2 separate regions of the Homo sapiens genome follow, and region 1 is linked to region 2. The links are contacts of gene promoters, found by promoter capture Hi-C in blood cells and fetal thymus (Javierre and others, 2016). All regions are on one chromosome and are shown on one strand. Each heading gives the region's core, a stretch centred on a gene start or on the middle of the fragment in contact. The rest is flanking DNA. Distances are from core to core; before and after follow the strand shown. Region 1 has its middle 120 kb from the start of LINC01814. Region 2 holds the start of RNF144A (ring finger protein 144A).

Evidence for each region. The method cuts DNA at HindIII sites, captures the fragments that hold promoters and counts their contacts. A CHiCAGO score of 5 or more calls a contact.
Region 1: a contact is called between a fragment that was not itself captured here and the fragment with the promoter of RNF144A in region 2, in 1 of 17 cell types (non-activated CD4 T cells). The highest score is 7.0, in non-activated CD4 T cells.

The regions. Positions count from the first base shown.
Region 1 is chr2:8,465,725-8,471,307 of GRCh38, reverse strand. No RefSeq gene overlaps it. Among named protein-coding and RNA genes, the nearest start is that of LINC01814, 120 kb to the left of the region's middle. The HindIII fragment of the contact is 4,338 bases long and covers 1-3,838 here.
Region 2 is chr2:6,913,192-6,918,661 of GRCh38, reverse strand. RNF144A (ring finger protein 144A) reads right to left here and starts at 1,250. Exons shown (of 9, transcript NM_014746.6): 1 at 1,040-1,250. GRASLND (glycosaminoglycan regulatory associated long non-coding RNA) reads left to right here. Exons shown (of 5, transcript NR_033997.1): 1 at 1-260; 2 at 1,438-1,812; 3 at 2,695-2,839; 4 at 4,312-4,469; 5 at 4,998-5,470. RefSeq lists a silencer at 921-1,410. The HindIII fragment of the contact is 2,406 bases long and covers 1-1,891 here.

The DNA of each region.
Region 1 (5,583 bases), core at 420-2,919, 1.6 Mb before region 2:
CAGGCACTCAAGAAGTACCTGTGAAATGTGAGGCCAGATGGAATTTTCCTTCTGCTCCAAAGTCCTGGCAGGGTGGGAATCTTCAGTGGGACAGGGAGCCACAGAGGCTTTGCTAGCAATGAGGGGATGGCCACCGTGAAGGAAGGGTGCCCTGGTCCAGGATGGAGGTAGGACCCACCTGTGCCTCTAAGGATAACCGTCACCAACCCAAACCCGATGGGAGCATCTCTAAGATGAAGTAGAGTCCAAGTGGGGAAGACAGGGGGACAGAAAGGTCCAGAGACTCAGAGAACTTTGGGACAGGGAGAGGATGGTGCAGACCCTCCAGCAAGAGACTCAGGGACCCCCAGCTGTTCCCTGAAGGAGTCCTGGTGTGGGTTGAAAGGTGACTTGAAGGGAAAAGGGAAAAAAATATGTGGTTTAGCCTTAGGCCTCTGTGGATGTTTGGGACCATCTGGGGAAGGGGGTTACTTAGCTGTCAACACGTATGAATAGCCTGCCTGAGCACATTTTGGACCAGGTACTGTGGGAAGTTATAAAGGAGTAGAAGTCAGGGTCTCCACTTTCCAGCTTCTTAGCCACAGAGGTTGATGTGGTTAGGTGCCAAATTTAGCCACTTAACCTTTCGTGCTTTGACTGGCATTTTCAGACATTTACTCCTTTTTAGTTGGATTTAGTTTAGATTAAAACCTGGGTTGTAATCCAGTTTGGCAGCCATCATCTGGGTAGCCTGGGATAGTTGAGTCCTGTGAACTCTTGAGCCTCAGTTCCTTTGCCGGCCAAATGCACATTCTTCCTGTCCCCAAGAAATTAGAAATAACTTGTTTAAAGAGTTAAATTATAAGTCAAATCAGAGGAGCAAAACACCCTGGCTGTCTTCTGAACATACTTTTACTACAGCCATGTTCAGAGCATGATCACGTGCAAAGACAGGGTTTGTGTTTCTGGAGAATGGGCTGAATGTTTCAGAAGAAGCAGAGAGGCAGACACAGACACAGTGTCCTCCCGGTACAGGGAGGGCTCCCGGCCTAGAGGTGGGTCCACTGTAGCTGCCAGCAATGCCTTGCCATAGAAATGAGTTCACGTGATGTTAGGACGCCTTCAAATTGGAAACAATTCTCACTCTTTTCCCTCCAAGGTTGTTGAGCAAACTTCTGATTATCATTTGGTTTCCCAGTGTAATTTGTCTACACGGAGCAAATGTTTGGCCACAGGAAGTAAGCGCTGGTAAAGTTGGTGGTCATCTTTTGTTTCAGTTAAAAATTAATGCATTGACATTCTGGTTTCTCTACTTGGTTTCCTGTGGGTTGGTTGGCGTGAGTCACACACAGCCGCTGACCCCCAATGCCCCTTCCATGCCCTGCACCATTGTCTCTTTCTTCCCACCCGCTGTGTCTCCCATCTTCACTGACCATACACAGGGGCTCAGAGCCAGTTTTAACTCTCAAGAGATAACTGTGGGGCTCAGCTCAGTCCTCAGAGCTGTGTCCTATTGCAGGCTCCTGGAAGTAGGAAGTGTGACCACAACCATAGCCCAAAGGCCTGTTGACACTCAACAATGCTAACTGAATGAATGAGTGACTTAATGCCTGGGCGCAGGTGGAAAGGGAATAGAGGGCAAAGCTCTGGCATTAGGGTGGGGAAGTTCCTATTTGAAGTTGGTGGAAGGAGTAATATGCCAAGGCCGCTGGCCTGGTCTCTTTCACTGTCCCTGTATGGCTGTGGGAATGCCAACATGTCCTTGTTTACAAAATGAAGCAGGTGGAATTGGGATCTTGGAATCATGGAAGGGAAGGTAAAATATCATGAGGATTTCCGTGCACACTTTAACATTCAACTCTAAAGTCAATGGCGTTCATGGAGTTTGCATAGATAATCCTAAAACCTACATGCAAGAGTAAAGGACCAAATGAAGACAATTTTAATGGAAAAAATATGCTGTGGGATTTGCTTTCCAAGCATTGACTTATTAAAAAGCTGTTGTCATTTAGACAGTGCAGCATCAAGGCAGGAACAGAAAGCAGATCAATTGGCCAAACTGGCCGAAAGATTCGCTGGTCTAGGACAGAGGCAGAGTTACGCATCAGTGGGAAATATTTGCTGTTTGGGACATTTGGTTATCCAAATGGGAAAAAAAGTTAAATTAGCTCTTTACCTCACAACAAATAAATATGTCAATTCAGATAGATTAAAGATTTATACACAAAAGTGGAATGATAGAATACCTTCCAACATTGGGTAGAAAAGCATCTTAAACAAAATACAACAAGCAATGGCCGTAAAGGCAAGATTCATACATTTGATATTAAAACTACAATTCCTAGGCAAGAAAGATAAAGATGACCATATATTGGGGGAAGGTATTTGCAACAAACATAACTAAGAAAAAACAAGTGCTAAGAATATATATGTAGGAAAACAGTATAGCAGCTCCCCAAAAAATTAAATATAGAGTTACCATATGATCTGGCAACTCTATTTCTGTGTATACACCCCAAAGCATTGAAGGGAGGGACTCAAATAAATATGTGCCCACCAGTGCTCACAGCAGCGCTATTCCTAAGAGCCAAAAGGTGGAAACAACCCTAGCGTGCACCAGTGGTTGAACAGGCAAAGAAAATGCACAGTATCCATATAACGGAATACTCTCCAGCCTTAAGAAGACAGCACATTCTGGCCGGGTGTGGTGGCTCACGCCTGTAATCCCAGCACTTTGGGAGGCCGAGACGGGCGGATCACGAGGTGAGGAGATCGAGACCATCCTGGCTAACATGGTGAAACCCCGTCTCTACTAAAAATACAAAAAAAAAAAAAAAAAAAAAAAAAAATTAGCCAGGCGTGGTGGCGGGTGCCTGTAGTCCCAGCTACTTGGGAAGCTGAGGCAGGAGAATGGCATGAACCCAGGAGGCGGAGGTTGCAGTGAGCTGAGATCACACCACTGCACTCCAGCCTGGGTGACAGTGCAAGACTCTGTCTCAAAAAAAAAAAAAAAAAAAAAAAAAAAAAAGAAACAGCACATTCCTACACACACTACAGCACAGATGAACCCTGAAGACATCGTGCTAAGGCGCAATTATGCACAATTATGCGAAGACAGTGTACATGAAGGAAATATTGTGTGATTTCACTTACATGAGATACCTAGGGTAGTCCAATTCACAGACACAAAAAGTAGAATGATGGGTTCCAGGGGATGAGGGAGAGAGAAACGGTGAGTGAGTGTCGAATGGGACAGAGTTTCAGTTTGAGAAGATGAAAAAGTTCCGGAGGTGGAGAGTGGGGATGGTTGGTCAACCACACCAATGTACTTAATGCCACTGAGCTGTATCCTTAAAAATGGTTGAAATGATACATTTTATGTTATGTATATTTTACCACAGTGAAAAAATAGATGAAGTACTGACAGATGCTACACCATGGACGAATCTTGAAAACATTTATGCTCGGCGAAAGAAGCCAGACACAGGAGATCACACACTGTATGACTCCATTTCCATGCAACGTGTAGAGCAGGCATATTTAGAGGGACTGAAAACAGAAGCATGGTGGCCAGGGCCATGGAGGAGTGAAGGGCCCTGGGGCTGAGGGCTAAAGTGTTTCTTTTTGGGCTAATGAAAAAATCCTAAAATTGATTGTGGTGATGGATGCACAACTCTGCGAATATTGTCAAAGCCACTGGAATGTACACTTTAAGTGGGTGAGTTGTATGGCACATGAATTATATCTCAATAAAGCTGTTACAAAAAAAGTTAAAAAAAAGAATATATAAATAACTCTTTCAAAATTAGGAAAGGCAAACAACAAAGAGAAAACCGGGTAAAGAATAGAGGGGGAAGCTTGATAGGCCAGTAAATATATGAGAACAAGTTCAGCCCAGGGAAATGCAAATCAGAGCAACAGTGAGATTCCACCTCACCCATCAGGCTGGCAAGAATTCAAATCCTTTCATCCCCAGTAACGGGGAAGACGTGAAGCAACGCAAACCATCACGAGTCGCTGTGTGGAAACGTAAATTGGTACAGACTCTTTGGAGAGCAATTTGGCAATATTTGGCAAATGGGGAGAACCGCACACTTTTGACTCAGCAATTCTACTTCTAGGGATGTACCCCGGGGAATTTCTCATGTGTGTGTAGAAGTTCTGTGTAAAAACGTCAATGTGGCACTGTAATATCAAGAAAATTGGAAACATCCTAAATGTCCACCTCAGGACACAGGATAAGCGAATTGTTTATGAGGCAGTAGAATACTATACAGCAGTTAAAATGGACTGCCCGTGTACTGTATTCATATGGATGGATCTTTCAAACCAAACATTGAAAGGCAAGTAGAACACCCCACTTACACAATGTTTATAAAACAGGGAAAACCACATTTACATAATTTATAAACAGGACTTCACCTCTACCTGTATTCTTCTGTAGATCTTTTTCTTCTCTAAAATGAAAGGTCTGAAGCAAGTGTGTCGAAAGGTTAAGAATGATTAAATCTCACAGGTGTTGATATGGGTGTTTGTTATATTATTTTATACTTTTTTATATTCTTGAAATAATTCATAATTCAAAGAACATTTTAAAGACCTACATGAGGGGAACAGTACACACTGGGGCCTGTCAGGGGAGCGGGGGGAGCAGAGCATCAGGATAAGCAGCTAATGCGTGCGGGGCTTAATACCTAGGTGATGGGTTGATAGGTGCAGCAAGCCACCATGGCACACTTTTACCTATGCAACAAACCTGCACCTTCTGCACAAGTATCCTGGAACTTAAAATTAAGAGAAACAAAAACAAAAAAGACCTACATGATGCTGTATATTTGAGGTCACAGGCATTATTTTGGAAAGCGTATATGCTTCCCCACACCTTGTTAATGGTGACCCAATTGGGAAGTCTGCGCAGGTCAGATGGGTCACTGCTTCTGGGGTCTAGAGTTAGCCTCTGAGGTCGGTCAGCCAGCAAAGCCTTTCCAATCGTTCCAATCATTCCTTTCCAATCGTTCCTGGTGTGAGCCACTTGAGGGCACGTCCTGGGTCCTGCCCAGCTTTGTGCTTTTGGTCCTAGCATGGCATGCGGCGTAAATGCTTAGGTGGGTGAACCCTCCCCCAAAACACACAGATAGGAAATGTGGATCTCAACCTGAGGACTTGTATGAGGCTTAGAGAGAGGAGGGTGTCTTAAAACCTTCATGGGTTCTGCCTGGTAGATCCCAAAGTTATCCTTATAAGATGTTTGGCCTTGGCCTGCTGTTTCAGACTGAAGTGTAAACCTATATGTTACAGGACTCACTTGACAGGGGCACTCACTCTTTCTTGGAAGATACTTCTTAACTGCGTGTGGGATGACAACCAATCTGAAGGGTGACCATTGGGAATTACAAGGAAGCAGCACTCATCAAAACAGCGATGTGAAACTCCGTCAGCCCCCCTTTCTTACAAATGGCAGTAACTGTATTGAAGGAGGCCAGTGTGAGTTTCCCTGCTAAGGTGGGCTGAGATGCTGGGCTTTAGGTGGAAGTGGCAGAAAGAAAGAATGCTTCTATTTTGCTGAGGTGGTTCTTTTCTTGGAGTGAGTAAGGGGTAGTTGCT
Region 2 (5,470 bases), core at 1-2,500:
CTCCCGAGTAGCTGGGACTACAGGCGCCCGCCACTGCGCCCGGCTAATTTTTTGTATTTTTAGTAGAGAGGGGGTTTCACCGTGGTCTCGATCTCCTGACCTCGTGATCCGCCCGCCTCAGCCTCCCAAAGTGCTGGGATTACAGGCGTGAGCCACCGCGCCCGGCCAGTTCAATGGATTTTAAAAATTATTATTCTCTAGAAAAAAGACCACGAACTTTGGAGTGGACATCCTGAGACCTGCCTACGAAGACCATTAGGGTAAAGAAGTCACCCCTTCACCCCAGGACCAGGAAGCCTCCAGGATGGCATAAGCGACCAAACAGCTGGGAGCCAAGCACAGTGCAGGGGGCTTGGGGTCGGCGGCCGGAGGCTGGGGTGGGTAAGACCCGCAGGGAACTCCGGGGCTCGGGCGGCGGCTCATTCCCCGGGAAAGGGCTCGCGGTGGGGACCAGGGGCAGTAGCAGCCGCGGACCCCGCGCGCAGGGGATGTGCGGGGCATCCTCTTGGCCAGTTCCGACCTTCCCCGCCGGTGGCGATGCCCCGGACGCGTCGTCCTTTCCCAGACCTCCTCTTGGGGCCGAGGCTCCAGCCCCAGGGTCTGCGGGCGGGGCCGCGAACCTTGAAAGCCCCCGCCGCCAGCTCGCCCGCGGGACCCTGGCCCGGGGCGCCCTGTCCCGCGCCGCAGCGCAGACCCGCGACCGCGCAGGGCAGGCAGGGGGACGCCAGGTCCCTAAGCGCCCACTGCCCTGGGGCGCGGGCGCCGCCTGCGAGAGGCAGGGCAGGGCAGGAGCAGAGCAGGGACGAGGTCAGGGACACGGGCAGGGCAGGGCGGGCGTCCTCTGAACGGAGCCCGCGAGTCCCCGCCCGGGACGCTGCCCCCCGCCCGCTGCCACCGGGCGCCGGGGCAGGACCCAGCGGGGCAGGCGCGGCCGCAAGCCCCGAGCCCCAAGGCCGGCCGCGCAGCGCCGCGTCCCGCCCTCCCCGCTCCGCGGCCGGCCCGGGCGATGCGGACACAAAGGGGACGCGCGTCACTCTACCTGGGCCTGCTCGTCCGCGGTGCGCGGCTCTGACGCCTCCGCCCGGTACTGGCTGCGGGGTGCCGGGTGCCCGCAGTTTGCCGCCCGCGCCTCCCCGCGCCCGCGCAGCCCGCACGGCCCGCACTGCAATGCCAGCCCTGCCGCCTCCCGCCTGCCGAGAGCCCGCGCGGGGAGAAGCGGCTGCGCGGGCGGGGCGCGAGCGCGCACAGAGGCCGGGCACGCGGGAGGCTCGGCCCCGGCCCCGCCCCCGCGCCGAGCCGCACAGCGCCCCCTGCCGCCCGCCTGCGCCGGCCCGAGGCCCGGAGCCGCCCCGCAGGCCCCAGGACAGGCTCCGGCACGAGGAGGGGCTGCGGAGACCGCCCGTGCACGCTAACATGAAAATGCTATTCCTGCTTTAGTGGCCTCCAGAAGACACTCCCCTGATTCCTACACCGAGGGAACACACAGCAGCAAGCTAGGAAAGAAGGGGTGACCCAGCCCAACGCTGTAAACCAGGGCGCGAACCGGCGTTGAGCTGTGCAGCTGCGCCCTGGGCTCCAGTCCTGCTCTGCCGCAGACCCCACCGGAGCCAGCACCTGCCTCCCCGACCCTCGCTGGGGCGGCTGTGAGATGAGCCCAGAGCCTTCCTGAGCCAACCCTCGCAAGGAAAGTCTGTCTGTTCACCCCACTATCCTTGTCTTGAAGGATGAAGAAAAGAGGGCCCCCCGGGAGGTCCCAAAAGGTGGAATGGACATCTGGGATCCAAGCACAGCAATTTCTTTATTTTTCTTAAGGTATCCAGCTTGTTGGAATCTAAGATCTGCGAAGGTATTAATAGAATTCCTGCATCTTCTGCCACTCCCCATAGAAGCTTGAAGTTACACAAATGTTAAATTATACGTCAGATGTGCATATATGAACAAAACCTACGAGTGTGCATGAAATAACACCTTCTTAAATATATAGATTCTTTTTTCTGCAATATTAAATGGAAACCCCACTAGAACATCGTTTTTCCTTAATAGCATACCCTCCACACTGTGTGGTCTAAATTCAAGCTCTACCACCTACTAGCCATTAAGCAAGTTATTAAGGTCTTCGTGCTTCCATTTTCTTACGTGGAAAATGAGGTGGCAATAGTATGTATGAGTTCTTCGGAGGGATTAAACAAGTCAAATAGGCCAAGTGCCATGGCTTACACCTGTAAGCCCAGCACTTTGGGAGGCCAAGGCAGGAGGACTGCTTGAGCCCAGGAGGTCAAGGCTGAAGTGAGCTGTGTTTGCATCACTGCACTCCAGCCTGGGCAGCAGAGTGAGACTTTGTCTCTCAATAAATAAAGAAATAGTCAAATTAAATATAACTGGCAAACTAAAACAACTCCATAGTCCTTAGCTACAATTTGTCTCATTTCTCCAAAGAATTAAATCAGATGATTCTTAACTAACTCAAAGCTCTGCATAATTTGTCTTCTGCTACACATACATCTTTATAGTAAAATAAAATAAAGCTGTCCCCTCTGTATTGAGAAGTTATTCTGGTAAATATTTGACCTCTTCAAATATATGAACGAGCACTTGCCTTCTAATGCCTCAGTTTCAGATTCTTTTTAGAAATGTCATTATTCAAGAAAAATGCACAATGGGAAGAATCTTAACAACAGCACTTTGTTACTTCAGCCTCTCACTAGAGGATGAAAATCGTTCTGCATAAAGGCCTGGGCTTTATGAAAAATATATTCACACCTCCCGTGTCCGAGCTGGGATACCAAAGAAGTTCCTGGTTGAGTACTACTTATGAATGAAGGATTCAGGGGATGCACAGGTGGGTGACTGCAAATGCACAGACGTTGTGCTGTGTTCCCCACAATAAAGGGGTCTGTATTAAGATGCAGGCATTCTCATGGAACACAGACGTATAACACTCAAGCTGGGGGACTGCAAAGGAGCATCTGGGGCTGCAGGAAGAGAGTTAAGGTGCAAAAATGCCCTGACCCAACTGAGACTTGTAATTGCTCATGTGGTAATACATGTGACTTCATTCCCCTGCTCTGTCTTTGTGAATGCAACCATTGTTGGGGAGATAGTGAGAGGGGACACTGGCATTGAAAGTTTTGTTTGCAGCAGGCCTCAAAAGGCACTCAGATGCAGATTTCCCTGCAAAGACTTCCCGGCCTATCATGGAGTTCCCCATCCCTAGATCTCTGATCTCTGAGCTGGTGTAATACTTAGTCTTTGTCTGTGTTGATCATGGCATCTGCCACACTTAATGTTTGTGGCATTCACTTTCTGATGCTTAGATCTTACGATTCTAGAGAACAGCATTTTTCTACATATTCCCTCTTAGGGCCTTGAACATAATAAGTGCTCAATAAATACTGAGTGAAATCCTCTACTCTGAGCTTTGCCTCTGAGCAGCTGTCCTAGTTCTCTCCAACAAGAAGTTTGTTGGGTCTCTCAAGTTCACTTCCACCTGTCACTGTCAGTTTTCAGTCCAGCCCCTTACTCAGGTCTGGCTGGCCCATCTCCCCCAGAGGGCTGTCCCATAGAGCCCATTGTAAAGGACACTCATTGTTGCCAAGAGTTTGTGCCAATGCAGTATGACTCACCCTTCACTCATTGAACAAGCTCTTCCTGATTACCTAGATGGGCAAAATTTCCCTGCTCATGCGAAGCAGGCTGGCGACTCAGTGCTGCAGCAAATGGCCCAGAAGCTGGGAAAGCAGATAGCCGTTCTGACACTTCTCTTCTAGACAGAAAATCAAGGGAAGCTCAAGACCCACACTTGAATTTTTTTTAAAAAATTAGACAAGGGGCTGGGTGTGGTGGCTCATGCCTGTAATCCCAGCACTTTGGGAGGCCGAGGCAGGCAGATCACCTGAGGTTGGGAGTTCAAGACCAGCCTGACCAACATGGAGAAACCCCTGTCTCTGTTAAAAATACAAAATTAGCCAGGCGTGGTGGCACATGCCTATAATCCCAGCTACTCGGGAGGCTAAGGCAGGAGAATCGCTTGAACCCCAGAGGCAGAGGTTGCGGTGAGCCGAGATCGCACCACTGCACTGCAGCCTGGCAACAAGAGCGAAACTCAGTCTCAAAAAAAAAAAAAAAGAAAGAAAAAGAAAAAGAAAAGAAAAAAAATTAGACAAGGAAGTTTATGTGAATTTGTAATCACACATTCCATAAATATAGAAAATTCACTTTTTTTATTTTAAAAATTAACAAATTCCATTTCTTGTTTCTCTAGAGTAGCAGGAAATCAAATGTCAGTTCTCATTCTGACTTTCTCTCCTTAAGGACACAGAGGAATCTGGGGGATATTATGGTTCTGGGAATGTGGAATGTAACGTCTCATCTTCAGCCCATCTGTGCTACTGATCATCTCATTCCAGAAGCCATGCCTTCTCTCAGGAGCAGACAGCACAAGACTTTCCTGCCAGAGGCACAGTCCCCAGGTGAGCCACACAGCCTTCACAGGGTAATGCCAAAGAACAGAGGAGAGTTCCTGCTACTCTCCGGGTCTTCTTGGCAAAGCTTCTGATACAGTCTGGCTGTCTCTCCACCTGAATCTCATCTTGAATTGTAGCTCCCATAATTCTCGTATGTCATGGGAGGGATCAGGTGAGAGGTAACTGAATCATGGGGGTGGGTCTTTCCTGTGCCGTTCTCGTGACAGTGAATAAGTTTTATGAGATCTGATGGTTTTATAAAGGGGAGTTCCCCTGCAAATGTTCTTGCCTGCTGTGACTTTGCTCCTCCTTGCCTTCCGCCGTGATTGTGAGGCCTCCCCAGTTATGTGGAACTGTGAGTCCATTAAACCTCTTTTTCTTTATAAATTACCTAGTCTCAGGCATGTCTCTATTGGCAGTGTGGGAACAGACAGACTAATACAGCTTCCCTTGTCTGTACTCTTACCCTTCTCCCTTCAAAAGCATCCTCTCTTTCTTTTCCAACCTTTCCAACCTCTCGAATAATCTCTGCAGTGGGAGTAGCATCCACATAAGACAGGATGCAGAGATGTCTTCAAGCAGCTTCAAACAAAACTTCAAGAAAGAAAGTGCAAGTGAAAAAGGAAATTCATCCTTCCAGTCACTTAACACAGCACTGTCACGGACACCTTGTGCCTCCTTAAAATTCGTATACTGAAGTTCTAAGCCCCAGTACCCCAGAATGTGACCTTCTTTGGAAATAGGGTCATTGCAGATATGATTAGTTAAGAGGAGATCATACTGGAGTGGGCTTTAATCCAATATGACTGGTGTCCTTATGTAAAGGGGAAATTTGGACACAGACACACACAAGGAGAACACCATGTGAACTGAAGTCAAAGATTTGGGTGATGCTTCTACAAGCCAAGAAATGCCAAAGATGACCAGCAAAGCACCGGCAGCTGGTGGAGGAGCCTGGACCAGATTCTTCCTCACAGCCCTCAAAAGGAACCAATCTTGCCAAAGCT